Linked DNA regions of Homo sapiens: regions 1, 3 and 4 are each linked to region 2. Evidence: promoter capture Hi-C in human tissues and cell types (Jung and others, 2019). All regions are on one chromosome and are shown on one strand. Each heading gives the region's core, a stretch centred on a gene start or on the middle of the fragment in contact. The rest is flanking DNA. Distances are from core to core; before and after follow the strand shown. Region 1 overlaps LOC100506023 (a long non-coding RNA gene). Region 2 holds the start of KLHL20 (kelch like family member 20). Region 3 has its middle 14 kb from the start of RC3H1-DT. Region 4 overlaps PRDX6-AS1 (PRDX6 antisense RNA 1).

What was found. The method cuts DNA at HindIII sites, captures the fragments that hold promoters and counts their contacts. A contact is called where the count stands out against the background at its distance.
Region 1: a contact is called between a fragment that was not itself captured here and the fragment with the promoter of KLHL20 in region 2, in 1 of the 25 tissues and cell types used here (neural progenitor cells).
Region 3: a fragment that was not itself captured here is called in contact with the fragment with the promoter of KLHL20 in region 2 in 1 of the 25 tissues and cell types used here (hippocampus).
Region 4: a contact is called between a fragment that was not itself captured here and the fragment with the promoter of KLHL20 in region 2, in 2 of the 25 tissues and cell types used here (hippocampus and mesenchymal stem cells).

Annotation. Positions count from the first base shown.
Region 1 is chr1:173,249,494-173,256,087 of GRCh38, forward strand. The region is part of intron 2 of LOC100506023 (a long non-coding RNA gene); the gene reads right to left. It also overlaps a transcript of TNFSF4 not described here. Among named protein-coding and RNA genes, the nearest start is that of TNFSF4, 45 kb to the left of the region's middle. The HindIII fragment of the contact is 6,748 bases long and covers 1-5,850 here.
Region 2 is chr1:173,711,453-173,718,600 of GRCh38, forward strand. It overlaps KLHL20 (kelch like family member 20), which reads left to right and starts at 3,529. Exons shown (of 12, transcript NM_014458.4): 1 at 3,529-3,626; 2 at 4,551-4,614. The coding sequence starts at 4,592. It also overlaps a transcript of ANKRD45 not described here. RefSeq lists enhancers at 3,433-3,622, 3,703-4,072. The HindIII fragment of the contact is 13,268 bases long and covers 1-7,148 here.
Region 3 is chr1:174,033,142-174,040,245 of GRCh38, forward strand. No RefSeq gene overlaps it. Among named protein-coding and RNA genes, the nearest start is that of RC3H1-DT, 14 kb to the left of the region's middle. The HindIII fragment of the contact is 4,399 bases long and covers 1,128-5,526 here.
Region 4 is chr1:173,449,852-173,456,402 of GRCh38, forward strand. The region is part of intron 1 of PRDX6-AS1 (PRDX6 antisense RNA 1); the gene reads right to left. The region is part of intron 2 of LOC100506023 (a long non-coding RNA gene); the gene reads right to left. It also overlaps a transcript of TNFSF4 not described here. Among named protein-coding and RNA genes, the nearest start is that of PRDX6-AS1, 8.2 kb to the right of the region's middle. The HindIII fragment of the contact is 4,874 bases long and covers 1-3,867 here.

The DNA.
Region 1 (6,594 bases), core at 1,227-3,726, 460 kb before region 2:
TGTTCTGTTCCTTGTGATGTCATTCTTTTAGCAGTGCCACACCCAGTACACCACAGGGTGGGAGGACACAAGAAAAGGGCAAAACTCAGCTGGGCTGTGAAGTCAGTGGGTGGACCTGGGCAGGGCACTCATGACTTCTGGAAAATAGCCTAAGTCTACCTAATTCCCAAGCACACAGTATATTAACAGTTCATGTGCCAGGACACCACAGCTTCCTGCCTTTAGCAGCAAGACTACACTCAGTACCAACACTTAGTATTAAATCTGCCTAAAGCCTTAGTAAAAATGGAGATAATAATAGTACCTGCTTCACAGAGTTCGTGAGCAGGAAGAGATAATGCATCATTAACACGAACCATAGTTCTTGACACACAGTCAACACTTAATAAATATTGGGTGATACTGGCAGTATCGATGGTAGTCATACTGATAACTCATAAGAATAATATGTTCTATTTCCCCCCATGGCACATGTTTACCTATGTAACAAACCTGCACATTCTGCAAATGTACCTCTGAACTTAAAATAAAAAAAAAAGTTCCTGAACCTCTTAAATCTTCAAATGTGTACTTTTCCAAAGAAAATTTAGTGCTGAGCATACTCCCTGTTCGTCAGTGCACCTGAGAAGCCATTCGATAGCTAACTATCCTATATATACGGCATCTAGTGACTAAATTGAGATCTTTATTTTAATCTACTTGTTTATTTTTATTTGTTCTATGAAAACTTTTAAAGGTTTTCATTAATTTTACCATTTAACACATTAATAAAATGTAGGTGAATTCTTAGTTTAACTTATAATTTAGCTCATCACCCTGAAACAAATTTCAATAAATTGAACAGATTATACTGAAAGAGAATATAGAAATAGAGGTTAAGAGACAGAAAATCATGTCTTATATGTACAAAGCTACCAGCCATACTGTCTTATTCATTTCAGTATCTCCAGTTTCATTTTTTGTTTTTTTGTTTTTTTTTTTTTTGAGACGGAGTCTCGCTCTGTCACCCGGGCTGGAGTGCAGTGGCGCCATCTTGGCTCACTGCAAGCTCCGCCTCCCGGGTTCACGCCATTCTCCTGCCTCAGCCTCCCGAGTAGCTGGGACTACAGGCGACTGCCACCACGCCCGGCTAAGTTTTTGTATTTTTAGTAGAGACGGGGTTTCACCATGTTAGCCAGGATGGTCTCGATCTTCTGACCTCGTGATCCGCCCACCTCGGCCTCCCAAAGTGCTGGGATTACAGGCGTGAGCCACCGCGCCCGGCCTCTCCAGTTTCTTAACACAGATCTCAATAAATATTTTTTGGAGGATTGAAGGGAGAGAAGTAGTATGAGATCTGGGGCTTTTAAGATCAAATGTCTATTGAGAGACTAAACTCCTTAGGAATCTCACCAGAAATAATATAACTAATATAATAGGAAGACTAAAATTATGCATAGGTGGCCTGACAATGTTTCTCAAAATGTAGTCCCCACATCAGCACCATCCATGTCACCTGGGAACTTGTTAGATATGCAAATTCTGAGGCCCCACCTAAGACCTATTGAATCAGAAACTGGGGATGGGGCTAAGCAGTCTGTCTTAAGCCCTACAGGTGATTCTGATGAACACTTAGGTTTGGAAACGTTTGAAAATGAAGGCACAAATACAGTCCATAGATACTATAAAGCCGCCAGGTGTTTAATATGGCAAAAACTAGGCAGATGTGTGCATTTGGTCAAAATAAAAACAGCTTTGCTCCCAGAATTCTACCTTTGCCTGGCATACTTCACACCATTTAACTGCAGGTTCTGTACAGGCATCTAAATTTTCACTTCTTGTTAATTGCCCAAGAAAGAAATCTGAAAAGAAATCTTGTTACAGAAAAAATTGAAGGGAAATTGAATTAATCTTTGAGCCCCTTGATAGCAGAGACTGATCTTGTTCATTATTGAACCCCCATTTTCTATGACAGTGCCTAGCACATAGTACTCAATACCTATTTGGTGAATAGATGAGGCAATCTCACATGTGGGAAGGGCTGACCAAGGTGGGCCCTCAAGATGTCTGAAAGGGGCCAGGGGGAGGGTATGTGAGGAAGACATGGTTTCAGTCCCAGTTCTAGCCCTTGCAGCTGTGTGACCTTGCAATAGTTATTTAATCTAAGTGTTATTTTCCTTATATGTACAATAGGGATGGTAACAGTTTCTATCCCATAGAGGTATTCTAAGGATTAAAAGGGAAAATACATATAAAGGACACAGCAGAGTACCTGGGAAATTGTCAATAAGTGTTAGTTCTTATGGTTATTGTGATCATTTTTGTGGTTTTTACAATGACACTACTGTGGAGGAGTCAATGCTTAAGACTAAGGCCCCTGTGTCAATTGCCATTATAAGGATTTGTGCCTACCCTATATGGCAACCTATTTTCCCTGGAAAGAAACACAGGAACGTGTCCTTTGTTGAAGTCCTTTCTAGAAGACAGAGAATTATGATTGGAAAATAAGGTAAATGCCCTGTTATTGTGTGGCTTGAATTTTAGGCAGGTTTTAGTTGGCTAACTAGATCAAATGTTTTATGTTAATAGATGGTTTTAGTTGGCTAACTAGATCAAATGTTTTATGTTAATAGATGGTTTTAGTTGGCTAACTAGATCAAATGTTTTATGTTAATAGATAATACTGTCAAAATACTGATTCTTCCACTTTTTATAATAGTTCCAGTCCTCAACTCTCATGATAGAAAGAAAAATAGAAAAGAAAGGAGGGAGGGAAAAAATAAAGTCTTCCAGAAAGTCTATCTTACAAGGTAAGTCCAATTTTCAATAATTATGTTGGAAGAACGCTTAACAGCTTAATTTTGGATCTCTTGATATAGCTTCATATAATCTTCATACAAATCTAATCAGAGATGTGAAGCTCTGATTGTTGAAATTATTAAAATACATAATTATTTGCTGAAATTAAATATAGGGAATTCCTTAAGGAGCCTTTCCACCATTTTTCTCTTCCTTTGAGATAATTATCTGTGCAATACTAGATATTAAATGGTTACATACTCACTGCACTTCTGCCCTGAATCTAGGTTGGAAGAACGTTTACTTGCCTTGCATAGGAAATTTCTCAATGTCTATATTTACTGCAGGTTGGCTTGGACTACAATTAGGGAACAACTGTTCCCACCAAAGTAGGATGTGTGGTTCATAACTGTGAAGAACCCATGCTGAAGGCTGATAGAAAGCAGCAACTCAGACATCAGGGGGAGCACTGATCAGGAGTGAGAGCAAGAGAAATTTCCCCAAATGAACAAGGAACTGCAGCAGACTTTTCACAGAACACCCTGGTAATAGAAAACTTCCATAGAAATTTCTGGTGAAAATTATACTTACGATGTATTTAAGAGTTTGCAGATGAAATGATTACAAGCTTCCTTCTAGCAGGATAAGTTTCAGAACTTCCTTGAAATCTTACATGCCTCCCTTCCATGGGCTCAGCCATGGTCAAACTATAAAAGATTCCCATCCCCTGTACTTCCTTGCATTTAGGAATATTTTCAGGTTTTTTCTCTTAAATCCATTCACTCTGTCTTACCAGAATTTTTGGCTGACCCTTCAATTTTGGTCAATGTCTTGCTTTTCCCCTGTTTATCTGGACTTGATATTTTAGACCTTCTCTCATAGGCAACTCTTCTGCAGTTTTCAGCTATCAGGCTTTTTTTTCTTCAAGCCCTATACTTGTATATTAGTCATAACCATTCCAACCACAAGAGCTCAGCTCTAGTATCCCCATTTATCTGGGAGGGAGGTCAAAAGTAAGAATCCTCAAACATAAGTGAACGAACTTAGAATAGAATACAAAAGGCATATGGCAAAGAAGAAAGCCGGCAGAAGCTAGAGGAACAGGATCCATAGTAGACCAGTGACTCTGCCCCATGCCGTGCTGGCAAAGGGTTCTCCTAGATACTTGGTAAGAGTGTGAGTATTCAAAAAAGTAAAGTTGGGAGTTGGAGAAGGGGAGTAATGAAGAAGACATAGGCCTTGCAATTCAACCTTAATAACACAGACAAATTGAGGCAAAAACATCAGGACCTGGCAACTGTTTTCTCATTTGATTCTTGCCTGGTAACAAAGAGAGAACTGAGCTATGGGTTAGAGGGATAAAGCCAAGACATATGAACGTCTAGTTTCTGCCCTACTCTGGTATGGGGATTGTGGACAGAGAATACTACATAATGCTGTGAAGGTAGCTGGATAAGCTCCTCTGACGTTGTGGGGTTTTCCTGCTAAAATTGAACCAAGCATATAAATTAAAGTGAGATGAGTTTTTTTCTATTAGAAATTTCAAAGTTACCCTGTCTCTCTTTAGTCATGTCTAAATATTAGTTGTAGGACGTGTATGCAGTAGATAAGAAGTCAATATGCAGCCAGCAGTCTATCTTCCCAGCTTTCTGAAAGACATTCCAGGACAGTTACAGAAGTGGAGAGATGGAGGCATTAGGTCTACTATTGAATTTAGGGTTATGGTTGGATGAATTTGTGTATAAGATCTTAAACTCTTTGATGTTCTATTTAAAAATCGAGTTCTAAGGGGAGCAATTTGAACAAATTAATACAATGCAAAGGTAGCCATCAGTCAAAGTGTGATGAATTCAGGAAAAGTCTTAAGACTCAAACTCTTTAGTTGAGGCCTTTGTGCCTGATAGAGATCTTTACCTTTGTCAAAGACTAAGTTACAACAAATTTAGTTATAAATCTAACTTGTTTTTATTCACAATTCATTAATCAGGTCAGCCTCCATTCTATAAAATAGAATATGAGTTCCCACTAGGCAATGGCATACAGTGGGTTTTGTAAGGTGGGAACAAGGAAACAAAATAGTAGGGAAAAAAATGGCTGATTATTAATATCAGGCTGCTTCAGTTCACTTTTTTTTTCTAAGAGTTAAAGCAGAAGGGACTTCCTTATTCAACTGACTCCAGTAGACTGGAATCTCCTGTTTTCAGGATAAAATGGTCTGTTTTGGGTTCTGTCTGCTCCCTTAAAGTTTCAGTTTCACTATGTGGCGTTTAGCAAAGTGACTCCATTTTGGCTTGTTCTCACCTGTTGGGACTTAGTAAAAGTTCAGTCTAAAAAATGACCTTCTATAATTTTTTAATACCTATTTCTCATAAACAAGGTCCAGGCTCCTGGAAGAGTAGGAATCACCAGATCAAGGGTGATGGGGGTAAACCTAGACTATCTTAGGCTTATTGTTAATAATTGCAAATTAGAAGCATCTTTTGAACAGAGACTGAAAGTGGTGAAGAAAATAAGATTGACAAAATTAAAATATAAAAGAGATCAAAGAGGAACTGCCTGCAACAAAATGGAATCATAGAAAATGGAATCATAAATTATAAAAAGAGAAAAGACATGGGGCTCAGAAGGAAGAAGCTAGGTTTGAAGAACAAATCTTTGCCCACAGTGCACTGGTTCTCAAACTTGGCTGCACATTAAAGACACCTTAGAAGTTTTTTTAAAAACACTGAGTCCCACCCTTAGAGATTCTGAATTAGTGGTCTGAGAAGTTGCTGGGGAAAGGGGGTAAAACTAGTCTTTCTCTTTTTCAAGTAACCTGTGTGGTCATTTCTAACTGAAGTGGCTAATTGAGATAGGCAAAAACCTCAACGCTCATGCCCCTACCAGGCTGCTTGTAACAAGGGTCAAAAAGAATGTGTGTACAATTACAGCATGTGTCTTTGTGCCTTTTTTAGGCTGTGTGCTTTACTTATGCTTCCTTTTTATCTAATTACTTTAATGCTCCCTAAAGTTCTGAACAGACTTTGGCAGGACGATTGGTGAAGGAAAATTTAATTATATAAGAAAGCAAAAGTCAGTTTATAATATCAAACCTAATTTATGGGACTGTAATTGCTGACCTCTAGGGGGAGCTCAAGGCTCCTTCTCCCCATCTCCTTTCTTTCCAGTCCCTATGGAGAAGTATTATTTAGGTTTAAGTTTAGGATTGTATTGGCTATTTGGTATTAAATGTTACCACATTGCCAAGTTAACAATCGTTATAATGTGGGTGTGGCCTCTTTTGGGTTCCCTTATTCTTAGCAAACAGAGTGGAAAAGAGGGTATGATCTGCATGTGGGTTTTTGTTTGTGAAACAAAAATAGACAGTTTACACTGTTGACTAGTTAGACACATACTAGCACAGCAAAAGGGAGTTCTTCACAAGATCCACTGAAACTTTTTAGAGTTCTGCATTAGGCTTAGGAGCTAACCTTATAACTAAGAAATAACCATCTCTTTGCTTTGCTTTGTCTTACTTCATCGTCACAATCTGTCTGTTTTTATCTGTGCCCCCACCTCCAAGACCTCAGAGAATCTCTAAATGAGGGGAGGATTGGTGTAGGTCAGGATTCAGTTAGTGTCCTAACAAGATACCATTGTAATAACATCATCATTTTTATTTGGGTGTTATTCAAAGAAAGAGAGAAAGGTGGAAGTGGAAAAGAGAGGGTAGTTCTTACAATTCCTTGAAAATTTCTTGAAAAGATAAAGGAAGTTAAGCCAAACGCACCAAGGCTGAACTTCTTGGTTTAAATAGTAGGAAGACAGCAATGCCTG
Region 2 (7,148 bases), core at 2,279-4,778:
AGAGACAAATTGTTGCATTCTTTTAAGTTTCTGTTAGTCTTTCCAAAGGAGGCAATCAGATATGCATTTATCTCAGTGAGCAGAGGGGTGACTTTGAATAGAATGGGAGGCAAGTTTGCCCTAAGCAGTTCCCAGCTTGACTTTTCCCTTTAGCTTAGTGATTTTGGGGGCCCAAGATATTTTCCTTTCACACACCCAATCTAAATAAAATCTATTTCATGTGTATTTTCCACTAGAAATTCAGGCTCCCGAAGGGCATAGTCTTACTCAGGTGGCAGAAAAACTGTAATTACTGCAAATGCCAGGTTTACCATAAACACATCTCTAAATGGAGTTCTCTAGGTCTTGACATAAATAAAAAGGGTTGATTCACACTGAACTTCTCCACTTCAAAAAGAAACAGAGTAGCAGAAGCACAAACCAGATTGCAGTGGGTTGGGGAGTGAATCACAGATATACAAAAATAGGAGGGACTGCTCTTATCCTGGACAGGAGTTTTAAAATCAGTCTTTGGTTAGCAGCATTTTTAGTAACATTTTTATACCATATAGTAACATTTTCATACCTATACTATGAATTATAAAAATAGTTTAATTCATATTACGGAAAAAATAGGAGTCACTTTGAAGGTATCTTTTACAATAAGCAATTCACAGAAGGGAAATCTGAATGCCACTTTCACATATGAAAAATGTTTGAACAGTAATGAGAGAAATAAACATTTAAACCACAGTGAATTACCATTTTATACCCAACCAATTGGCAAAAACAAATTTAAAGTTGGAAAACACCAACTGTGATGATAATATAGACCAACAAAAACCCTCAAACACTTGTAATGGAGAGACAACACAGCACTGTAGCTGAAAGCACAGACTCTAGAGCCATTGTGTATGGTTTCAAGTTATTGCTCTACTTCATAACTAGCTGTGTGACTTTGGGCAACTTACATAACATCTTGGTGCCATCTGTGAAACTGGAATGATGATAATAGATCCTACCTCGAGAGGACTAGTGTGAGTATTGATGAGTTACTATAACATGCTACATAAGTATTTGCTAGTATTATTATTACTGAAATAGAATAATGACTTTAGAGAGCAATTTGACTAGTGCTAATACAGTTGAAGCTGTGCATAGCATACAACCCAGCAATTTTGCTTCTGCGTGCACACCCCAAAGAAACACCTACAGGTGTACACAAGGAGGTATATGCAAGAATTTACATTGTAGCACTGTTTGTAATGGAGAAAACTGGAAATAGTCAAAATATCCATCTGCAGAAAAAAATGTTTTAAAAAATCTATGGTATATTCATATAATAGAATACTATAAAGCAGTGAAAATAAATAAATTAGTGCAGTAGTTCTCAAATTTTACCATGCACTATAATCACCTGGAGAACTTGTTAGAACACAGATTACTGGGGCCCACCTTCAGTTTTTGATTCAATAGGTCTGTAATGGGGCTCAAGGGTTAGCATTTTCCAAGTGATGTTGATGCTGCTGGTCCAGGACAACACTTTGAGAATCACTGAATTGGACCTTCATTGATCAACATGGACAAATCTTACAAACAGAATGTTGAGTGGAAAATGGAAGTTGCAAAAGAATACATATGCTTTGATACCATTTATGAAAAGTTTTAAAATATGGAAAAGAAATCATTTTACTGCATATGTATATATATCACATATACACATGCAGTAAAAATTTTCAATAAGATCACAAAGCTAGTCAGTTACAGGTCTAGGATTTGTACCTATGTGTATCCGTGAAATCGCCTTTGCAAACTGAAACCCCCTTTGCAAAAATTCTATCAGTGAGAAAATTATAGCAGTGGAGGAGATCTGATCTAGCCAAACCCCATCTTGCCTTTAGCTTTCAGTCTGTCCTTAATTATTCCTGGGCTTAAGCCAAGATAACTTTGGGAGACATTTAGTTTAATAGTTTAAATAATTACAGTCCTTCCCCAAAACTCAATTGCCTTTGTAAAGCTAATGAGAGACCACCAGACAACGGGGATAGATGAGCCTGAATTCTGTTAAGTGTAGACATAAGTGATTGCCAGCCATTATTCCAGAGGTCACAAGATATGCAACTTCCCCAATTACTCCTACAGATAACATCACTATTGTAGAATCTAGGATTGGCCTTTTTGGGTATATTTTTAAGTTTTTTGCATGTTTGACTACTGATGGCTCCACCTGGACCCACCAACTGTTCCTGTGGCTCCACCCAGAAACAACTCAGTAGGCAGGAGGACCATCTCCCATACCCCTATGACTGCACCAGTCAGCAGCAAGCACCCATTGCCTAGCCACCCCTACCCCTTTCCCCAGACTACCTTTGAAAAGAAACCTAGCCCCCAAATGCTCCAGGAGGCCGATTTGAGTAATAATATAACTGATTTGAGTAATAATAAAACTTCTTCCATTTTTCCACTCGATGTTGTGTAAAACTCTTTCTCCATTGCAATCCCTATACCTTGATAAATCATCTGTATCTGGGCAGCAGGCAAGAAGAATCCACTGGGCCACTATATCTGGATCTAAAGGCCATGTATTTTCCACTACAAGCTAATTAACAAGAGGTATCCTTTCCCCTCAGAAACAACTGGACACACCTGTGTAGATTCTACATAAAGAACAGCTAAAGAAAATCTGGTTAATACTTAGCCTAGTATACTTACCAGGAAATCAGCAACAGTCTTTCTCTGATATTCCTGAAATTGTAATCCCCACCTTACACTTGTATCACTTGTTTTCTAAATATTAATATACGGTAAAAATCAGGTGGCTGTGTGCTATGGGAAAATCTGGAGGAAAAGATAATTTTAAAAATATACTTTTTTGGCTCTGCTTGCTACTGAAAAAAAATTTTTTTAAGAAAATATACTCTTCCCTCCTTAACATTAAAGTGAATCCACAGAAGATGTGTTTGGTGAAGTGTCTGGTGGTGAATACTAAGTAGAAAGGGCAGACTAACACAGCCTTAGAGCCTGGATAAAATCCTGGTGTCCTGAAAGTTTGACCGTGGGAAATCTGGAGGATAAGGTCTATCTCTGGTCTGTCTATCTAACTTCTGCACCTTGCACATAGTAGAGGCCTGACAGATACATGCCAACCCATGTGTGCATGCAATAATTCAATCCACAATTAGGAACATTGTGCCAAAAGGAGACCCACCAACTAAAAAGAAATACAAATTCTTAGCTTTCTGTGACTACCCTTTACTGCCTTTGCTGGCGAAAACAAAGAAGAAAAGAGGAGGCTTCAGTATTCAAATACTGCCAGTTCCGCAGTGAATTCTAAAAATGGTTACTCTTGGGATACAAGGAACCCCCACGAGGATAAACAACCTCTGAGGTTACCTGAATGCCCCAGCAAAGGGCACGACTACTTCCGGAGCCGCACCGGAACCCCTTGGCGGATTATGTGGGTTCCTGCGGGAACGATTTAAGAATAGGACTACTTCCTGCTTCTGGATATGGGCCGGTGAAGGGAAAGGAAATAGCTCTACGAGCGGCATCCTGCCTGCGTTAGCGGCGGTGGAGGAGGAGGCAGAGAGGAGTGGAGGGCGGAGTAGACGGAGGAGGCTGCTGCAGAGAAGAAAGTGTCAGAGCCGGTAAGTGAGCCAGTCACCTTAGAGCAGGGGACAGCGGACAGCGCCCCAGGGCTCGCTTCGCAGATATGTGGTCCCAAGTTGCTGAGCTGCCCCATGGGGTCAGGTCGGTCGCCTGTCAGTCGGCGCCGAGAAGAGACTGTTGGGGCGCTGGGGCCGGGCCTCGCGGAGCGCCAGAGTGCGCTCTCGCTGGCTGACAGCCTATCTCGGGAGCCAGAGGAGGCCCCGGGCTTTGTCCTGCCTGGTGGTGCTGGGGTTTCGCATCCTGGACAGCTTCCCCAGACAGTGTTTGGAATTCAGGGAAGGAAGAAAGTACGTGCGCCCCCATTTAACCCTCGGGACCTGGCGAAATCCTGCTACGTGGGTAGTGAACATTGTATCGGGGACTGAAGGAAATGCTTGTAAAGAGTGTTAGTCTGGAGCCATACTTTCCCTGCCCTGTTCAAGCTCCCTGGACTGTCGGAAGCGGAGTTGTTTGTAAAGGCAAATGCAGACGCCTCCTCCTCCTGTCACTTCGGGACAAGTTAACAATCTTCAGATTCGTTATTAAAGCCTCGTGTACCCTATGTGATCTATCAGGTTAGTACTGCTGTGGGTATCTGGTGCTTGTTCTGTAAATATACTTGATGTCGAGATCACAGTTAAATATCTCCAAGCACTTTTTGAAGAGAAACAAGACTGACCTAACAGTCGGGACTATTTAGCATACTTTCCCTCACCTTTACTTTAATCGTTTTAGCATGCAGAGTAAGGATGGTAATCTTAAATGTACTAGATTAAGTTATTGTGCATCTGCAGAAGGCCTGTGGTATAATAGGATATGAAACTCTTGATAACTGACGAAATGAGTGAAATGATTATATAAAGATTGTTACTGTAAAGATCAGAAATAGCTTTTATTAAGTTCCTGCTTTTCTGTTGTCTTAGGTTCGGCTTTAGAGTGTGGTGAAGGGTACTTTTCATGGTGCATGGAAGGAAAGCCAATGCGCAGGTAGGCATTTAGGAAGAAAACCTTTGGTTTCACTGATTAAAATTCAGCATGTAATAATTTAAATTTTTAAAAAAGAGTTTCAATCTTACTAAATTCTGCTTGGAACTAATGAGTCTTGTTCTACAATAAATCAAAAGTAATATTAAGAATTAATAGCTTTTTAATAGAATAAAATACAGAAGTTGTTTCTGAAAAGTGCTGTGGATTGTATGTAGTGCTAAACACTTAAATTTTCCTTTTTTCATGTTTTTTACAGTAAATAATCATTAAGTTCATTATGATACTATATGGATTTATTATAATCTTCAGTTCCCTATAAAATGTAGAGGATTCTGTTCCCATGTAAGAATCATAATTATTTATAATATACTGTACTGCATGCCTAATTATGGTTTTGGTTATTTCCTTGATGTTCAATCATACATTTGTTCTGTTAATTAAAATAGCTGCATTGTAGGGAAGATTGTATAAGGACTAAAATAGGTATTAGACATAATAACTTAGTCCATAGAAAAATAGAACAATGTCTGGGAAAATATAGACAATAAATAGGCCCTCCCAACCCTAGAATTTAATAATGTTTTTTCTCATTTTGTTCTAACAAATGAGACTAGAATCTTTATGATACAAAATCATCCCAGTTCTATTTCTTTGGTTTTTACATTTGTTTTCTATTTATTGAACTCTATTTAATCATTTGTTATTTAACATCAAAGATAAACAACTTCTGCAGTTCTTTTAAGAGAAGAAACATTTTATAATGGGAATATGACTTATAACTCAGAACTTGGAGCAAGAACCAGAATGTATATCTTTATCCAAATCTGTTATTGGTTTATCAATTGACCTTGAGCTGTTCACCTTCTCTGTACCCCAGTTTACTTCTTTAGTGTATCTGATCAGGATATTGGGGATTAATGAACATTTGCAAATGCTTTAAGATCTCCAGATGAAAAGATGTTATCAAGATGAAAAATACCATTATCTTATTTATATTTTACTCTGTAGTAGGAATAATATTTTACCACAATGTACATGAAAAAATTAACAACATAATATTAAATACTTCATCCCTTTACTTCTAACATTATTGCAAAACCCACTGATTGTGTCTCATCTCCAGCTACCATAAAATGTCATATCTTATATAATTGCTAAAATAAGAGCTTATTATTTTTTAAAAGAATAGCAGAGTGTGGGAATGTTTTTGGTTTATCAGTAGTCTATATAAAATATTTGCTTAATCACTCATACCTGCTCCTTTTTTCTTGCTTTATTACATAATACTGTCAGCTATTCAGAATCATGCTGGATAATTCTAGTGCTGTTAATCGTTAAGCTACGGCTCTTTCTTCATCACTGTCACTTGGCCAGAGCCTAGCCTACTCACATTGGTCTCTGGTCTTACTTTCACCTGCTTCCTACATTCAATCATGGTCACACTTCCCTATCCTTTTCTTATTGGGCTGTCATTTTTGCTGATTTAACCCAGAAGGCAGTCTCTGTAATGCTGGGTTTATACTCAGTTGCTATTAAAGAAGCTTTGAGAAGTAACTTTTTATATTGAGACTATTTGAATACATGTTCATTCTGTCTACTAGATTGTGAGCTCTTTTAGTCTCATGTCTTCCTATATTTGCATCACTAGCACCTAACGATTACTGAATAATTGTTTGAATAGGACTGAACAGTTTCTGCAGACTTTCCCCCTCCAAAAAACAAAAAAAATCTATGAACAAGACTGAAAATTATTGTTAAAGGTATTCTAATTTTTGATTATAAAGTTTTATGAAATCAATTGGCATTTTATTAGTAAAGTTTCATTACCTCATTTATTTATGTACTATCATTTGCATAGCACAATGCAAAATTTAAAAGATACAATAGGATATTCAGTGAAAAGTTAACTCTCCCATTGCTGACCCCAGTTCCCAAAGGCAACCACTGTAAGCAGTTTCTTATGCATTCTTTTAGAGGCATTGTAGTTCATACACAAATGTATATAAGATGTCTTCTCTTTTCACTTTTTTAATTTCTATTTTGTAGATACAGGGTTTTGCCATGTTGCCCAGGTTGGTCTCAAACTCCTGGGCTCAAGCAGTCCCCCTGCCTAGGCCTCCCAAAGTGTTGGGATTACAGGCGTGAGCCACCACACCTGGCTAACATTAGTAGCTTTTAAAAAGAAAAGATGGCTAGGCACAGTGGCTCACACCTGTAATCCCAGCACTTTGGGAGGCTGAGGTGGGCTGATCCCTTGAGCCCAAGAGTTCAAGACCAGCCTGGGCAACATGACAAAACCCCATCTCTACAAAAAGGAAACAAGAAAAATTTAGCCAAGTGTTGTGGCAGATGCCTGAAGTTCTAGCTACTCAGGAGGCTGAGGTGAGAGGATCACTTGAGTCTGGGAGGCAGAGATTGCAGTTAAGCCGTGATCATACCATTGAACCCCAACCTGGGCAACAGAGCAAGACAGTGTCTCAAAAAAAAAAAAAAAAGACACAAATGTTGTAGGGCATAGTGGTTCACACTTGTAT
Region 3 (7,104 bases), core at 2,077-4,576, 320 kb after region 2:
ATTCAGGAACCAATGTAAAGAGGAGAATGATGCCCCAGAGTAGCTCCCTTTTTTCAGCAACAGGCTGTAAGGGAGCATCTTTTAAAAAGGGATCCTTTAAATAGTACTTCATGGCTTTCCACATGGCTGAATTTACCTTCTCTCAACACTGATTTCTTCATCAAAATACATTTTTGTCTGATTTATCCTCTGAGTTTAGGGGCTATATTATGGTTAAATTTAATGATACCAGTGCTCATTACCTTTAATCTGGAACAAAGAAAAATATCTTCTGTCTCAATAGGAATAGAACTTAAAGGAAAAGTCAGTGGATCAGTTTGTGTGGATGTGTGCGCAAGTGTGTATAGGTATGTTTAAATAAAGTTATTGGTAATTTAGTAACCTACTGCCTACAATGGTAGAAAGGATGCAGTAGTAGCTGTTGGATAGGGCAAGGTTCTTATATAGCCCTGAGGGATGTGTAAGTGTTGTAAACATTAGTAATTTTGGCTGCCCAGCATCTGACTCTCTCCTCCTCCCTCTCTTTGGGAATTCTCCATTTGGGAGTTTTAGTGGATGGCAGGGTCTCTTCTCCCACTATAAGGACTGGAAAGGTCAGATACTTGCCTAAATGCCCTCCCTCAATCTGCCAAACACAAAATACACACCCAACTAGGCTGAAGGAAAGTGATCTAAGCTTGGACGACTATAGATGCTGTTAGTTGGGACTGTGAATCTGCAGTAAGTTACACAGAATTAAGTAGAATTCATCCCACTAGCAGCGCTGGTACCAAGAGTCTGGTGGGACATCAGAGTCTGATGGCAGCAATCCCTGAGGTGATGGCCAGCATCCACTGGCAGTGGCAGTGGTACTCTTATCAGGGCATTTCAAGGCTGACATTAGCTGTGATTCTGGCTATCTAGGTTCTCTCAATTCCTGTTCTTCATAACTGTGAACTGCCTGGGCGCGGTGGCTCAGGCCTGTAATCCCAACACGTTAGGAGGCTTGAACTCAGGAGTTCAAGACCAGTCAGGGCAGAACAGCGAAACCCCTTCTCTACCAAAAATATATATAAAAAAAAAAATAGCTAGGCATGGTGGTACATGCCTGTGGGCCCAGCTACTCAGGAGGCTGAGGTGGGAGGATCACTTGAGCCTGGGAGGCAGTGGCTGCAGTGAGCCAAGATCAGGCTACTGCACTCCAACCTGGGTGACAGAGTGAGACCCCATCTCAAAAAAACAAAACAAAACAAAAAAACTTTGAGCTACTCAGTTTGCTCCTAGTAAATTCCTATTCTGCCTAAGTTAGCCACTGAGATAGTTTCACCTATAAGGAAGAGTGTAGAAATCAAGGGACTGCAGAAATAATCTATTTTTCTATTTCCCATATAGACACCCTTTACTCAGTTTAAAGGACTTATCCATGTTTTTTCTTTTTCTGTGCCCTGATTTTTATGATTGCAGTTGTCAGAGTCTCAAAACTTCAAGGTACATCTATATCCATTTCACTTAAATTGAAGTGAAGGTATCCTAAATGACATGTTTCCTTCTGTTAACTCAGTTCATTTATTATTCCCAAATAATAAGCCCTCCTGTCAAGCTTTTGATTTGGACTTTTTACCCATCTGTCAAGAATGTTCAGTGTCTACTTTAAAACTAATATTGCACTAATTTCTCAAGGGGAAAGTGTCCATATCAATTTCTCTCTTAGTCAGGATTTATATCCTAGGGGAGAAAAAGAAGAATAAAATAATCTCTTCCTTGGCTAAAAACTATTACAAAAAATAAATGTTTTTTTCTTGAATTCCTAACAAGAATTTTTCTTTTTTTCTTTTTCTTTCTTTTTTGAGACGGAGTCTTGCTCTGTCACCCAGGCTGGAGTGCAGTGGCGTGATCTCGGAAGAATTTTTCTAATCAAGCATTTCATCTGGGGCAATCAAGCAATCAAAGCCTTCCTTGCTGAAATTACATGGAAAAAGAATTATTTTCTACATTTTTGCAAAAATATTTTAACTACCAAAATTGAAATGTTCATTTATGGTTTTTTTTTCTGCAAAGATACTTAACCTTGTTTCTGCAACATCTAATTGAGTCACAAATGTTCTCAAGTGATGATATAAAAGTCACAGAACAAAATTAATTCGTATTCACTTTATTACAACCACAACAAATATTTGGTAACCTCCTATGTGCCACATAACACCACAGACATCGTGCTATTTTTTTTGTTTTTTTTTTCCTGTCACCCAGGCTGGAGTGCAGTGGCACCATCTTGGCTCACTGCAACCTCTGTCTCCCGAGTTCAAATGATTCTCATGCCTCAGCCTCCCAAGTAGCTGGGATTACAGGCGCCTGCCACCACAACTGGCTAATTTTTGTATTTTTAGTAGAGACAGGGTTTCACCATGTTGGCCAGGCTGGTCTTGAACTCCTGACCTTAGGTGATCCGCCCACCTCAACCTCCCAAAGTGCTGGGATTACAGGCATGAGCCACTGCGTCTGGCCGTGCTATGTTGATATAACAGTAAACAAAACAGACAGGGTCTCTCCCTCAGAGGCTTATAGTTTAGTGTGGGAGATAGAAGACTTATAATTAAATAACCACAAGTATGTTAAGTGTCCTGAAGGCCAAAGTACATGGGGATGTTTAGCAGTAAGAATTGACCTAATCTGATGAACAGAGAAGGTTCCTCAAGAAAGTGATGTTTAAGCTGAAGTGAAAAGATGAGTAGGAATTAGCTAGGCAAACGAGGGGTAAAATGTTTCAGGGCAGAGGATAGCATGTGCAGTATCTCTGAGGTAGGAAAAAGTGTGGTATATTTAAGGAACTAACAGAAATCCAGTTTGGCTGAAGAAAGTATACAGATTCAGAGGGAGCCTAGCAAACAAAGAAGATGCCACAGAGGCCAGCAGGTAGACCTTGGAAGCCAAAGTAGGAATTTCAAGCTTTATTTAATTTATTTTTTCAATATCTTCAAATCATTTGAGCTTTATTTTAAGATAAGTTTGCTAGATAGTGTACAGGATGTTAAACTAATTTATATTTTAAATAAACAATAGTATTCTAGTATATGTCCCAAATATTGCATGGAACATAAATTGAAAAAATTATCCATTATTTTTATTTATCTATTTATTTAGGAGATACAGGGTCTCACTCTGTCTCACTCCAGGTTGGAGTGCAGTGGCACGATCATAGCTCACTGTAACCTCAAACTCTTGGGCTTAAGTGATCCTCTTGTCTCAACCTCTTCAGTAGCTAGGACTACAGGCAAGCTCCACCTCACTGGGCTATTCTCTATTTTAAGAGCAAAGTCTGAAAGGCTGAAGAGGGACATGGCAAGATTTCCCTGTTGGCCAGGCGCAGTGGCTCATGCCTGTAATCCTAGGATTTTGAGAGGCTGAGGAGGACAGATCTCTTGAGCCCAGGTATTTAAGACCACCATCATAAAAAGAAAGCATCCCCCACATCTAGAAGCTTTATACTCATTATATTGAATCTTTACAATACTAGAAGATGGATATTATTACTGCCGTTTTACAGAATAAGAAACTGAGGTTTGGGATGGTTCAATAACTCACTCCAAATAAAACAGAGTAAATAGCAGAACTAGGATTCAAAGCCAGTTATACTCATTCCAATGTACTCAGTCTATATTATAACAGTACTGACTCTCTTAGATATCTCAAGTAAATTTAGCCAATCCAAAGCTTGAATGGCTTTCTCTTTTTAATGATAGTAATAACCAATTTGACTCAGTTAATCATGAGATACAGGGCTGGTCCTGAGACTGTTTACCTCCAGATCCATTTCTTGCTTTACTTGATCCCTGATTCACAGTAAGGACTGGCCTTCCTGTGTCAGCTGCCTTCCTGGTGTGTTTGGCTAAGAAGGAGGAAAAAGAAGCCAAGTTACTTCTTGCTGATTCTCTTCCTCTTGCTTCAGGTGGAATCCTGGGCAACAGCTGTTTCCTTCATGGCCCCACCTGAGGCTGAGCAGGCTTCCACCAGGAAACCCTAGTCCCTGGGCCCCAGTAAAACATTTTCCTCTCTTTGTCCCTTTAAACTAGTGTTGTTGGTGGCTAATCTCTGGATTGCCCCTCCTAACACCTATGTAACTAATTCCGTACATCAAACATTGTCTGTTTTAAATATTTAGAGTATCTTCCACAAGCCTGATAGGACCCTGGTATGGACATTGTCTTGGCCAGTGTCATGGATAGGATATTGCTAGTTTGGACTGAAAGACCTCTCTTCTCATTCTGATAATCTCTAATCTTACTGGTGAGAGCCTAAAAATATTATTATTATTTTTATTTTTAGCTTAAAGCTTTGAATTCTGTCATTGATAATACCACCAAACATTTTTACATGCTTCAAATATAATCAAAGAACAGGGCTGGGCATGGTAGCTCATGCCTATAATCCTAGCCCTTTGGGAGGCCGAGGAGGGTGGATTGCTTGAGCTCAGGAGTTCAAGACCAGTCTGAGCAACATGGTGAAACACCATCTCTACAAAAAAACACAAAAATTAGCCAGGCATGTTGGCGTACGCCTGTAGTACCAGCTACTTATGGGGCTGAGGCAGGAGGATTGCTTGAAATCTGGGAGGTCAAGACTGCAGTTAGCCAAGATGGCGCCACTGCACTCCAGCTTGGGTGATCAAGTGAGACCCTGTTTTGATATATATACATATACATATATTTATGTATATATATTCAAAGAACAGTCTGTTTCACTGGAAGGGCTAATTGTACCCACAGCCTCTTTCTAGGGAAATCTTTAACAATGCGATATCCTTGGGTATCAGAATAAGTGGATGTGTTTGTTCCTCTTGACTGGACCAGGTGAGTGCCATTGGCCCAAGAACAGCAAACGATTGACTGGCTGGCTTCCTATGAAAGAACTTGGAGTGAGAGCTTTGTCATCAGGTCCTTAGCAACAATCTATCTGGTATTTGATCTATAGATTTAGGGGGTCAATTAGTTGGTATTAGGAGCAAGGGCAGAAAGTCACCCTGAGAGAAACAGAATCGTAGAGAAAAGATACGATGTCAATAGCTGAGCACTCAGGAAATGTCAGCAAGTTCTTGCAGCAGAGGGGATGCTTTATTTGTGCTGAATCCTGAAGAAGTTTTTAGTTCAGAAACCACAGTATTGACTCTGTCTAGTTCAGCTGTATTCAGATTCACATTATTCCTGTGTGATCCAGTGATCTTGCCATTTCCTATTTTCCTGGTTGGCTGAGATTTGTGGCTAAGATTCGTCTTTATTTTCTTTTTAAAATTTCCCTGAATATCTTTTTAGTAAACCGTCTACTACTTGATATAATCTGAGTGTGCTTATGTTTCCTGCAACTGATATAAAAACCTAAAACAGTTTTTAAGGCATCTTTAGATTTTTTCCATCCTTTTTTTTTCTTTCTTTTTTTTTTTTTTTGAGATTGAGTCTTGCTCTGTCACCCAGGCTGGAGTGTAGTGGCGTGATCTCGGCTCATTGCAACCTCCACCTCCTGGGTTCCAGCGATTCTCCTGCCTCAGCTTCCTGAGTAGCTGTGATTACAGGTGAATGCCACCACGCCCTGCTAATTTTTGCATTTTTAGTATAGATGGGGTTTCACCATGTTGGTCGGGCTTGAACTCCTGACCTCATGATCCACCTGCCTCGGCCTCCCACAGGGCTGGGATTAAAGGCGTGAGCCACCGCACCCAGCCACGACCGACTAATTTTTAGTAGAGATGGGGTTTCATCATGTTGGCCAGGCTGTTCTCGAACTCCTGACCTCAAGTGATACGCCCACCTCAGCCTCCCAAAGTGTTAGGATCACTGGCGTGAGCCACAATGCCCAGCTAGCAGCTAATCTTAATTGAGTGCTGAGGTTGTGTCAGGCATTGTTCTGAATGTAATAACTCATTTAAATTCTTAAACAGCTTTATAAATTGGTATTATTATTATCACCATTTTACAAATGAGGAAATGTAGGAAAGAGAAAGGTTAAGTTATCGCCCAGCAGTCACTCATCAAAACTGTGGTAGAGCTGGAAATTGAGCTTGGCAATCTGCTGCAGGATCTGGACTGTGAAGTCATCCTGCTAAAGAGTAGGAGGAAAAACTGCCCAATATTGTTGAATATGCAAAAACATATTTTCCAGTATACTCAGTGGAGATTTTGGAATCAATCCAAGAGATCAGTTTGGTTTTGACCTTCATAAGAGGTTGAAGACTCAGAAATATTTACTGGGCTGAGTGCAGTGGCTCATGCCTATAATCCCAGCAATTTGAGAGGCTGAGGCCAGAGGATTGCTTGAGGCCAGGAGTTTGAGACCAGCTTGGACAACATAGTGAGATCCCTGTCTCTACAAAAAATAAAAAAAAAATTAGCCAGGCGTGGTGGTGTATACCTGTAATCCTAGCTACTCGGGAGGCTAAGGCAAGAGGATCACTTGAACCCAGGAACTGAGGCTTCAGTGAGCTATGATCGTGCCACTGCACTGCAGCTTAGGTGACAGAGTGAGACTCTGTCTCTAAAAACTAAATAAAATATAGAAATTTATTGAAGGTTAGAGCGAATTAAAAAATTCATCGGTGTTCTAAATCACCCAAAGAATATATGGGATACAATGTATTTCGATACCCTAGGAAAATAGCCACCAAAAAAAGCACATCCTTGGGTATTAACCAAGAGTTTACTTGTATTACAAACAACTTTATCTACTGAACAATTGGAGACTGTCTTTTTGTAGGCTGAGAGTAAGCATTGGGCCAAGCTTAAATCAGCTCTTGTTCATAAGGAGATAATGAAGGCTGGGTGTGATGCTGGCTCACACCTGTAATCCCAACACTTTGAGAGACCAAGGTGGGAGGATCACTGGAGCCCAGGAGTTCAAGACCAGCCTGGGCAATGTGGCGAGATCCTGTCTCTAAAAAAAAAACAGATCTTGAGATCCAGCAACACCTTTGGACACTTATTTCTTCCCTCAGGGGTTTATGTAATTTGTCCTGCATTCCTTTGTTCTACACAGTTGCCACCACACCATCTATGTTTCTCCTCACAAGGCTGTCTGAGAAACCATCTCTTCAGCCTTCTCTAACCCTCCTTGATTACCTTAGAAAAAAAGCCTAGAGGC
Region 4 (6,551 bases), core at 181-2,680, 260 kb before region 2:
ATCTAAGCTTGCAAGTGACAAAACTAGAAAAAGAACAGAATAAACCCAAAGTAAGTAGAAGGAAGGAAAGTATTATTAGAAGACCAGAACTCAAATAAATTGGAAACAGAAAAACAATAGAGAAAATTAATGAAACTAAAAGTTGATTATTTTAAAAGTTCAGCACAATTGATAAACCTCTAGCCTGGATGACCAAGAAAAATAAGATGCAAATTAGAAACATCAGAAATGAGAGAAGAAACATCACTATTAACCCCACAGACCTTAAGAGGATAACAAGGGAACAGTACTATGAAAAGCTGTTTGTAAATTTGACAAAATGCACTAATTTTTAAAATTAAAAAAAATTACCAAATTCATTCAGGAAGAAAAAAGTTTATGTTAAAGCAATGATTTATTTCATATATATGTATGTATAACTTTTAAATTGAATTTGTAGTTTAAACCTTCCAAAAAGAATTCTCTAGGCCCCAGTGGTTTCACTGATGAAGTTTACCAAACATTGTGGAAGAAATAATAATTTTACATAATCTCTTCCAGATAAAGAAGAGGAAGGAACACTTCTCAATTGATTTTATGAGATTGGCATTACCCAATAAAACCAAAGACATTACAATTAAGAAAATGTCAACCCAATATCCTTTAAGAGCACAGACACAAAAATCTTATAAAATATTATCAAATTGAATCCAAAAATATATTTAAAAGATATTAATAATATGGCATGATCAAGTGGGGCTTATCCCCAGAATGCAAGGCTCACTCAACATTTGAAAAGCCATCAATGTAATTCACCACGTCAACAGTCTAAAAAAGAATAATCACATGAATATCTTATTGGATGAAGAAAAAGTTTAGAATAAATTCAGTAATCACTTCATGATAAAAAAAAAAAAAAAAAAAAAAAACTCCAGCAAACAAGAAAGAGTAGGGAACTTCCTTAAACTAATAAAAGGCATCTATGAAAAACCTACATCTAACTTTATACTTCATGATGAAAGACTAATGCTTTCCCCCTAAGACTGGGAAGAAAAAGTTGTCCTCTCTTGACACATTCGACAGTGTACTGAAAGTGCTAGCCAGTGTAATAAGGCAATAAAAAGAAGTAAAGGATATAAATATTGGAAGGGAAAAAGCAAAAATATATTTATTCATACATAGATAACATGTTCATGTAGAACATTTCATTGAATCTACAAAAAGCTTTTAAACTAGTAAGTGAATTAGCAAGGTGCCAGCATATGTACAAGTCAATATAAAAAAGTTAATTATATTCCGATATACCAGCAATGAATAATTGAAATCTGAATTTTTTTCAAAAATACCACTTATAATAGCACCAAAAATAAGGAAAATATTTAGTTATAAACAATAAAATATGTGCACAATCAATTTGCTGAATACAAAAGATTGATGAAAAAGTCAAAGAAGATATAAATAAATGTGGAGATACAGTATTCATGGATAAGGAAAATTCAATATTGTTAAAATGTAAATTCTCCTAATCTACAGAGTTAATGCAATTCCAATTGAAAATCCAAAGGATTTTTGTAGGTTTTTTTGTAGATTTAGACAATTAAAATTTTATATGGAAAACCAAAATAACCAGATTAGCCAAAAGAAAGAAAACAAAACATAACATTAGAGGTGTCATACTACCTGATTTCAAGACTTTATAGTAGTCAAGATCATGTGGGATTGGCAAAGGAAAAGATAAATCAATGAAATAGAATTGACAGTCCAGAAATAAACCTTTGTATTTATGGTCAATTGATTTCTTTAAAGATGTAAAAGGAATTCAGTGGAGAAATTATGGTATTTTTAACAAATGATACTGGAACATTTGGACATTCAGATGCACATAAATTCATACATACATATACACACAATACATGCATACATACACACATACATACATATGAAGAATAAGCCTAAACTATATGTCACACCTTATACAAAATGAACTCAAAATGGATCATAGACTATAAAGTCTAAAGCTAATAAACTTGTAGAAAAAGAAACTATCTTGCCCTTCCGTGTCTTTTAAGAAGTCTTTTCTTTTTTTACCCCCTTGAAAACCCTGTAATTGCCTCACCTGGAGCTGATGCCTCACAAAAGAGAGGATGCCCACTCTCCTCAAAATCTACCCCAAACACTTCTTATTGCCACTAGACCCATAACTAGAGTCCAATTTCAACATGTTCCAGCAGCCTGGAAGTGGCAGCAGGTCTCTGAGTATAACTGTGGCACTGAGCCCAGGTTCCCAGATTTGTCTCGTTCCACTTGCTCTGCAGAGTATGAGCCAATATAAACTAAAAGTGATGTCTTTACTAAACACCTGTTACGAAACAGCCTGAGGTGTAGATATCTCTCATCTCTGGCCTTGTTTTCAGCATTTTTCCTCCTTGGATCAACAGTTTCTGATACCAGGTTAGGTTACAAGGCTGGAATAAAAAAACAAACCCCAGCTTGGAAAGGAAGGTGAATAAGGTAGTCACTCTTACTTGTTTGTTCTCACAGAATTTGTCCACCTGACTATTGAAATACCCAGTCTAGCTTCTTAGTTTTTATTCATGGCTGTTGGTATTTATTAAGTAAGCATTAACAGACTTATTGGGCAAGTAAAACATAATGTGCTAGGCAGCCACAAGAAAATACAAAGCCAGAGTCCCCAACCCTCAAGAGTTCATTCTAGACTAATCGTAAATACATGGCTTTATGTTTTCAGATTATGCTTAATGGAGCCACTCCGAACCATTTTCTTCTGGGTGGCACACCTCTGCGTAACGAAATTTTCCAGACTTCATATGGGCAAGGTAGCTAGGCAGAGAGAATGACCTAAAACTAAAATTGTTTCAGAGAGAAGTAGGAATTGTACTAATTAATGCTGGAGCAAGACAAAGATAGACTTCGAAGGGGCAGATGGCTACAGCTTAGTGTCTAACATTATGGAATTGATCTCGGTAGGGCACCTAGCATTGCTTCTACTACTCCCATGCCTCTAACTGTCCCATAAGCAGGTGCTGTTAGTGGCAAAGGCAAAATGCAGGAGTGCAGCCCACCATGGCTATAAGAAGTACTCAAAATCCATATCTTCCTGCTTTGGGATAGCTGAATCTCAATAGACAACAATTATTTTTGTAACACACTTAAATAATGTAAGAGAAAAAATAGTAAAGAAGAAATGTTTAGAGAAAATGGAATGACAAATGAGCAAATATAGGAAAAGAAGTCAGGGAAAAGAACATCACACTATAAACTCATCAATGCTTTATACCAGCACCTTGCACAAAGTTTAACTTTGTAAATTGTCTTAAATATTAAATACCTAACTTTATATAAAAAGGCAACACCAATATCATCTCTTCTCAGCGCCTCCAAACAAAATTATGTACTTTGTTTTTTCTAATTAAATTTTTTTTTTTTGAGACAGAGTCTCACTCTTGTCACCCAGGCTGGAGTGCAATGGCACAATCTCGGCTCACTACAACCTCCACCTCCAGGGTTCAAGCGATTCTCCCGCCTCAGCCTCTCAAGTAGCTGGGATTACAGGTGCCCACCACCATGCCCAGCTACTTTTTGTATTTTTTTTTAATAGGGATGAGGTTTCACCATGTTGGCCAGGCTGGTCTCAAACTCCTGACCTCAGGTGATCCACCCACCTCAGCCGCCCGAAGTGCTGAGATGACAGGCATAAGCCACTGTGCCTGGCCAGAATTATGTACTTTCAATTGTTTATCCTCCACTAGAGATGCTTCTCTGTGAATTAGTTACACATCTTTATGAGTAACTACCTTTATCACCTACCTTTATGATCAGGTTGTTGATCTGAGAGATGGGACTATGGAACAGAGGAAAATTAACAGGTGCCCATTAGGCCTCAAGCCACAGTTGAGTTTTCAGTGGGATTGTACTCTCAGCTAATGAGATGGAAATGAAAGCTGAGTGCTTACTGACAAGAACTGACTTCATACCTAAGTGGGCACACAAAAACCCCAGAGGTGTAAGAGTAAATTCTGGGCTTCTAATCTGCCAATCAAAACTTCACAAAGGGTTGTGATTGTTAATTGTAAAATAAACCTATCTGCCCATGGGGACTCTTGGGAAACAGCGTTACTGACTATATAACACATGTAAATACTCTGTTTATATACTTTAATTGTCTAGCCCTCTGTAAAATGAAACAATTTAGTTTAGGGACACTTGAGCTCAGTATCTAAAGACTAGGACAAGCCCACATTCCTTCTCCTTGGAAGAGAGATCTTCTTTTTCAACAGCTAAAATGCAGCCATTTGCTAAAAATGACTCAGCACTCAGAAAGCTCAGGAGAACAAATCTCAGAGAAAGGGGCTGTCCCTGCCAGACACCCCATTTCTCCCACCCAAGATTTCTATGCCATGTATCACCCATACAGCCAGAAAGCTAGAAGTATATTTATTTTATAAGTGACAAAGCAAGGAAACAATGCTGAGAGGTCCAGAATTGAACAATAATCACCATAGATATGTTTCTTTGGGGAGAATTCTTCTATGTAAGAGCCTTAAAATTACCTCTCAAATTTACTTTTTGAAACCATGGTGTTGAAAGGGACTGCTTGAGAATCTGGAACCCGGTGTTTGGTGAGGTTATCTTGGCCCATACTTCCTCTGCATAGCAAACAGTGACTCTTTGGAATAAGGGGCAAACTTGGGACTCAGGGCCAGAGTTATATTCACAGACTGGCTGCCACTTCCACACCACTGGAATATGATGACAATTGACCCTAGTTATGGGTCTAGCAGCAGTAACGGGTGTTTCAGGTAGGCTCCGAGGAGAGTGAGCATCCTCTTGTTTGTGAAGTATTTGCTCCAGGAGAGGCAATTACAGGGTTTTTGAGGGGAGAAAAAAATTCTGCAGATACACAAGAGCAAGATACTCCCACTGGCAAGGGAGACTCAGAGCAACTCAGGGGTTCAAGATTCTCACTCTCACTTGAGACCAACCATATGTGCCCATTTCAAGTTTTGGGGTCTCCTTCCCAATCAATGACCTAACTTTCACATGAGAAACTTGGCATTAATTTCCCAAGAAAATTACTGATGTTGTAGTTCTGCAACCTGTAAAATTAAATTTTGTGTTTAATTTTTAACAATACCAACCCTGTGGCTACAAGACATAAAAGATCCTGTTAGGGCTGCCATGGAAGTCCTCTAGTTCTCAGACCGAGAACTAAACCAAGAGCTTAAGGACCTGAGCTTTTCATCTTCTGTCTGTAAGCACTCCACTACACTCAGAAATATCCATCCTATGCTACAGTCCTTGCAGTGATCACTACTGCCGTTAAGAGTCCAGTGTCCGGTCAAGAGACAGAAACCACACAGTAATTCAAATAAAGAAAGTATAATCATGAAGAACTGTTAACTTGGTAAAAAGGTGGTTAACCACTAAAAAGGATAAAAGAGAATTGTATGGTGTAATAGAGGTGGCAACCTCAGACTACAGCTATCACTCTTAAGATGAAAGGAAAGGTAAACAAGGAGGAAACTTAGAAAGAGAGAAAGGACTCCAGCAGACTAACATTTGGGCCTCTAAGGAGATGGTTCAGCTGGTGCAGAAACATGTCACCCACTGCTGGGGTGAAGAAGAAACCTCCGGGGGACATTCACTTGCTGGAACCACAGGAACAATTCACCACCACAAGGAATACTGCCGGGGCCAGGTATGTGCTGACCCATTCACTGTCATGTGGAGAAGGCAAAAATAACAGGAGAAGATAAATCTCTTTTTCCTTCTCCAACTTTGAGAATCCCTTCAGCACTCCCTTAGCCCCTAATTGGCTGAACCTAATATAAAGCCAGATATCTGAGAAAAAAATGTAGTTTGCAGTGTACATCTCCAGTATCGTGAAGTAGGACAAAGAAAGGTAGTTTGGAACTAAGAGGAAATAAATTAATAATAAGCATACTTGAATATAGAGGCTAGGAGTAAAGATGGGGAAAGGCGAACAGTTACAATATATGCTTTGGAGATAGAATCGCTTGGACTTAGTGTTAAGGCTCCTGTGGGAGGGGAGTAAAAGGAGGAATCAGGATGATCCTTCTAAAGAGAAAGGGAAAATAGTATATTCATTTGTGGATGGAATGAGTTTGTTGTGGTTAGAAAGAAAGAGAATTAAGAATTAAATTTTGAATATATATCAAATGTCTGTGACATATTCAGATCAAGGTGTCAAATTGGCAGATAGATGGCTATACAAATGTTGAGCTTGTCTGAAGATAAAAATTAGCATCAACAGCATATATATGTTATTTAAGGGCGCTGGACTAGATATCATCTCCAGAGAAACTACAGATAGAGAAAAGAGCCAGAGAACTTCCTGAGACACACCAACATTCAGAAGTAAGAGAAGAGGTGAAACAGAGAGAGTAGCCAGTGAGAGGCAAACAAACAAACAAAAAAAAAAAATAGGAGAGTTTGGTGTAACGGAAGCAGAGAAAGAAGTGTTTCCAAAAAAGTAATCAACTCTGTCAAATGCATTGAAATTGAAGAAAAGCTTCCATTGGATTTTCTTT